2 separate regions of the Homo sapiens genome follow, and region 2 is linked to region 1. Evidence: promoter capture Hi-C in 16 types of primary human blood cells and fetal thymus (Javierre and others, 2016). All regions are on one chromosome and are shown on one strand. The core of a region is centred on a gene start or on the middle of the fragment in contact, and the rest is flanking DNA. Distances in the headings are between cores, read along the strand shown.

Region 1 (2,967 bases), core at 4-2,503:
AAACTTCTCCAGCAGAATTTTCCCGGTTTCATTGAGAATCCGATGCCTCTCTTCTACTAAAGGCATGGAAACGTCTGTGTCAGAACGAAGTATATTCCGAACCTGATCCAGGGTCACTGTCGCGTAGTACGAGGCACTAGTTATTGGTATCCCTTTAGTGAAAAAATAAAATTCAGAGGACCAATGTCATACTTCCATATGCATTAAACCCTTGCTTTTACAACATGGAATTAATATGAAACCAAATGAGTGGTATAGGAATGCACCAAAAGTGGAAGAATAAAAAATCTAAAGCAAAACTCATTTTCTACTTGTTCATCTGTACTTATTCACCCATTTCTAACTATTGCAATATTACATCAGATGTATTCTGAGTAAATTGCTTTATAACATCGGTCCTTTTGTTCTTCAGGTGTCATTCAAATGGCATTCTTTATAAAACTGACTTTTATGCTACTGTAACTTTTATGCTGCAATGATAAATATTAACATCATTTTCCACTAAAATATGCCCCTTTTCATACTTCTATTTTAAGCATAAGGACTTGCAACGAACTTCAGGTTCGCTTTCCATTATTCCATCTCCCAACCCGCTCCTTGGAACTCCCCTACACACACCCCAAGTAAATGGAAACCTCAAAGGCCGTTAGGTCCGATGGCAAGTATGGCACCAACCTTCGTCGAGGGCTCTGTTGACGGCGGCGCACAGGGACCAGTACCCACTGTATGTTTTCCCTCTGTACCTCACCACACACTTGTGCTCGTCCTGCTCCGACCAAAAGGAGAAGTTGAGCGTGTCTGTCACGAACACCCAGTTGACCGCGGCCTCGTCGGCCGCCCTGGGGTTCAGCTCATGAAGGGCTTTCCACCCCTCCACGCGCAGCTCTGGCCCCGCCGCCTTGGCCAGCAGCAGCTCTGCCACCCTCCGTACGCCTCCGCTGTCAATAAACACATCCCGACTGTTTTCTGCAATGAATTTAGAGGATTCCCTGGGATTTAGGAGCCCGTCCATTCTGCCCTTTGGGACCCGGCGGGCCAAACTCTTCCCGCCCTAGGCGGGTCAAGGTCCACTCTGCGCCTTGCGCTACTACGAACCGCGCGATCACAGGGCCTAAACAAGGTCCCGCCCTGCCAGGGAGTGGCACCGAGAACTTAGTGCAGCCAAGGTAAAGGTTCTCTCCCGCGGCGTTGCCCTGATTAGGAAACCAGAGAGACCCCGGGGCAGCTCGCTGGGCAGAGGCCGCAAGCACTTCCGGGAAAGCGGTCCCGTTCACGCCCTCTCGGGCGCGCTCTCAGGCTCCGCTTCCGGTTCCAAAGGTCTGGAAACTGCTAAGGGTCCGGCGTTCACCGGCCGTGAGTTGCCCACCCTGGGAGGTGCATGGCTTTGCCATGTTTTGCCTTTTCTCACCCCGCTTCGGACAGGTGGGACTCGAAGACGGCGACTCGCCGCCTTGCCCTGGGTCGCGATGCCCCCACCCCGCTCCCACCCCTCTCCTTTCCCGCAGCCTGAGCAAGACGCCTTCGGCAACGCCCCGCATCCGGGCTCCTTGGCCTCGAAGAGCATTATGGCCGTAGATCTGGGTGCTGAGGACTGAGCCACCCCCAGACTGCGACATGGGCGGCGGTGCCTCCTTCCCCAAGCCCCAGGGAGTGTTTTTTTGTTTGTTTTGTTTTTTGTTTTTGTTTAAGTGAATTCCTGGCCCATTTGGCCGAACGAACGTTAGGATTAGTTGGAAGGTTTGGAGAAATGGATGAGGAAACAAATGTGTTAAATTGTTAAATTAACCTTGTGTGCCTGGCAGTGTACTTAAGTACTAAATCTCACCTAGGCTGGGTCATGACGAAAGCGGCTATTGTGATCCCGCTTTTGCAAGTGAAGCTGAGTGGTTCATTGATTAACCCCCATCACAGCAATGGTTTGGGCTAGGATTTAAACCTTTGATAATTGAGCCCCCTAAATCGAGGGCACTTTATGAGCCAATCACCAGTGCCAACCATTCTGGTCAGTCAAATAGTGACTATATCAGTGGCCCTACTGAGAAGACATTAAAAATGAGGAAATAAGTGTCTCACAACTGCAAACTTACACAAGTACCTTATATTAGGAGAGAGGTGTAGAAGCCAATTTAGTGATGATCCAAATTTGACTGGTGATGAAGTTTTAGTATAAAGGTATGCATTTTTTTTCCTTTTGGAGACTTAAATCTCCATGGATAACGTTCACATCTTTGAAAATCACCTATTAAAAATAATCATCAGTACCCATCTCTAGTTACCGACAGGAAAATCTTGGTATTTTTGGAGGATTCGGAGCTTTTAAATTTGTTTGTTTGAGACAGAATCTCACCCTGTCGCCCAGGCTGGAGTGCAGTGGCATGATCTCAGCTCACTGCAACCTCCACCTCCCCGGTTCAAGTGATTCTCCCTGCCTCAGCTTCCCAAGTAGCTGGGATTATAGGTGTCAGCCACCACACCTGACTAATTTTTGTATTTTTAGTAGAGATGGGGTTTCCCTATGTGGGCCAGGCTGGTCTCAAACTCCTGACCTCAGGTAATCCACCCTCCTCGGCCTCCCAAATGGAGCTTTTTTTTTGAGACGGAGTCTCACTCTGTCATCCAGGCTGGAATGCAGTGGCACAGTCTCGGCTCACTGCAACCTCCGCCTCCTGGGTTCAAGCAATTCTCCTGGCTTAGCCTCCCGAGTAGCTGGGATTATAGGTGCCCGCCACCACGCCCGGCTAAGTTTTGTATTTTTAGTAGGGACAGGTTTTCACCATGTTGGCCAGGCTGATCTCGAACTCCTGACCTCAGGTGATCCGCCTGTCTTGGCCTCCCAAAATGCTGGGATTACAGGCATGAGCCACCACACCTGGCCCCAAATGGAGCTTTTAAATTTGACAGCTGTTACCCTAGAAAAGCAGATCTTCATCACTCCAGTTTCTTCATTTTGGTAAGAAAAAGGAACTT
Region 2 (2,959 bases), core at 215-2,714, 46 kb after region 1:
TCTTTCCGTCTTGGTGTTCTCTTATTGAAACCAGAAAACGTGAAAGTGTTAGGAGGTGAAGTAGATGCTCTTTTAGAAGAATATGCCCAAGAAAAAGTACTTGCAAGATTAATAGGGGAACCTGATCTTGTAGTTTCAGTCATACCAAACAATTCTAACGAAAACATTCCCAGAGTTACAGATGTTCTAGATCCTGCATTAGGTCCTTCTGATGAAGAACTCTTGGCAAGTCTTGATGAAAATGATGAGCTTACAGCAAATAATGACACTTCCTCAGAACGATGTTTCACCACAGGTAGTTCCTCAAATACCATTCCCACAAGACAGTCAAGTTTTGAGCCAGAATTTGTTATTTCTCCAAGACCAAAAGAGGAACCATCAAACCTATCTATACATGTAATGGATGGAGAATTAGATGACTTTTCACTGGAGGAGGCCTTGCTTTTAGAAGAAACTGTCCAGAAAGAACAGATGGAAACTAAGGAATTGCAACCATTGACTTTTAACAGAAATGCCGATCGAAGTATAGAGAGATTTTCACATAATCCTAATACTACGAATAACTTTTCTTTGACTTGCAAAAATGGAAACAATAATTGGAGTGAAAAAAATGTATCTGAACAAATGACTAATGAAGACAAATCATTTGGTTGTCCATCTGTTAGAGACCAAAACAGGAGTATTTTTTCAGTTCATTGTAATGTACCCTTAGCCCATGATTTTACAAATAAAGAAAAGAACTTAGAGACAGATAATAAAATAAAACAAACCAGCAGTTCAGATAGCCATTCCTTAAATAATAAAATATTAAATAGAGAGGTGGTCAACTATGTACAGAAAAGGAATTCACAAATTTCTAATGAAAATGATTGTAATTTACAGAGTTGTTCTTTAAGATCATCAGAGAATAGCATTAATCTTTCTATTGCCATGGATTTGTATTCTCCACCCTTTGTCTATTTGTCTGTTCTAATGGCCAGCAAACCAAAGGAAGTTACAACAGTGAAAGTGAAAGCATTTATTGTAACCTTAACTGGAAATCTCTCAAGTTCTGGTGGTATTTGGAGTATAACTGCAAAGGTGTCTGATGGTACTGCATATCTAGATGTAGACTTTGTGGATGAAATACTTACTAGCTTGATAGGGTTCTCAGTACCAGAAATGAAACAGTCAAAAAAGGATCCTCTTCAATACCAAAAGTTCCTGGAAGGGTTGCAGAAATGTCAAAGAGATCTAATAGATTTGTGCTGTCTAATGACTATTTCATTTAATCCTTCCTTGTCTAAAGCAATGGTACTGGCATTACAAGATGTTAATATGGAACACCTTGAGAATCTAAAGAAGCGGTTAAATAAATAATTAAACTAAAATAGTATTAGGAACAATTAAAAACAACAAGGAAATATTTAGAATTTGTTCACAATTTTACTTATGATACTTTGTGTAAAAAGGAAAAATGAAATTTCATAGCTTATTTCAGTTTAATTTTAAAGTGTTTAATCATGTTTGTTATATGTGGAGCTTTTGAAAATAAGTTAATCTTTTTTTTTTTTTTTTTAATGTCAGGGTATTGCTCTGTTGCCCAGGCTAGAGTGCAGTGGCATGATCATAGGTTATTGCATCAACCTCTTGAGCTCAAGCGATCCTCCTGCCTTAGCCTCTTGAGTTGCTGGGACTATAGGCATGTACCACCATGCCCAGCTAATTTATAATTACTATTATTGTTTTGTAGGGACAGAGTTTTGCTATGTTGCCCAGATTGGTCTCAAACTCCTGGCCTCTCACTCCTGCCGTCATGGCCTCCAAAGTTTACTTTTTTTAAAAGTAACTGTTAGATGGAGGAATATGGTGACCCACTATTGTTGAGAAATTTGTTTTCCACTTGTCACGTCACATAAGATGATTGCTAAAATATTGTACTGGTGTTCGGTGGTGAGTCATATTTTTGAAAGTTAATAATTATAAATAGGTAATTTCCTTCTAATATGTTGGTACTGTCTATGGCCATACCACCCTGAACATGCCTGAGCTTGTCATAATATGTTGAGTACCCAAAAGATTTGTTTATATTGTTAATCTTAGGGAAAAAAAATTAAAATCCAGTAGATCAGAACATCAGGCTTTCAGATACAAATTGATTTACTGGTTTTTATTTTGCTGATTATAATATTTGGTATATTTAAGGTAATCTAGTTAACTAGATGCTATTTCATAGATTATATTGAATGATTTAAAACTTTATTTTCAAGGATAGTTTATTTTAAATGGCATATTGAAAACATCATTATTAAGATCCAGTAGGTAGGACATTTATTGGATTAAAATGAAGCATTTATCTATGTCTTTAGGTGTCATTGTTCCCTTTCTGAATTAGCTGTACATATAAGCCTTCCTTTGGTTTTAAGTACTGATTTTTTTTTAAAAAAAAGAGGGACTGTTTACCATTCTTCCACTGTGCTGTTATAAAGTTGTATTTGAAAGGTAATGTTGTTTTTATTAATCTTTTGTCTTAAAATAATTTAAAGTGCTTTGAATTTTAAAACATTAAACAAATCCTTAAATAACAAAATACATTGGTGTTTTATTTTATTGAAAATAATGTAACGAAATATCAGGAAGTAAGATAAATACATGTATGATGTATGATAATAGAAGTAGAAGAGAAAGATTTTAAAATATTTTCATTGTTGTATCAGGGTTCAAAGCACCAGGACACAGATATTGCTAATATATGCCCTAGTAATAATCTTGTCTATATACTTGCATAGCTTTTTAATAAGTGATCTGAATGGGATAGCTTTATCTTTCATTATCTTTTCATTAAATTTTCTCCTTCTATACTCTCATCTCTGTGAATGGGGCTTGAAAATTGGGATTAGAACTTCTTTTCATATTGTCATTAAAGACTGGCTATCGTACTTTTTATCAATCTATGCTACTATATTGGTTCTTGGTACAT

What was found. Contacts are between HindIII fragments. The CHiCAGO score rates a contact against its expected background, and 5 or more counts as called.
Region 2: a fragment that was not itself captured here is called in contact with the fragment with the promoter of QNG1 in region 1 in 2 of 17 cell types (naive CD8 T cells and neutrophils); the score reaches 5.3 in naive CD8 T cells.

What each region holds. Positions count from the first base shown.
Region 1 is chr9:83,955,489-83,958,455 of GRCh38, forward strand. It overlaps QNG1 (Q-nucleotide N-glycosylase 1), which reads right to left and starts at 1,254. Exons shown (of 4, transcript NM_032307.5): 1 at 676-1,254; 2 at 1-152. The coding sequence starts at 1,012. The HindIII fragment of the contact is 8,080 bases long and covers 1-2,967 here.
Region 2 is chr9:84,001,506-84,004,464 of GRCh38, forward strand. RMI1 (RecQ mediated genome instability 1) reads left to right here. Exons shown (of 3, transcript NM_001358291.2): 3 at 1-2,569. The coding sequence ends at 1,359. Among named protein-coding and RNA genes, the nearest start is that of RMI1, 22 kb to the left of the region's middle. The HindIII fragment of the contact is 3,800 bases long and covers 1-2,959 here.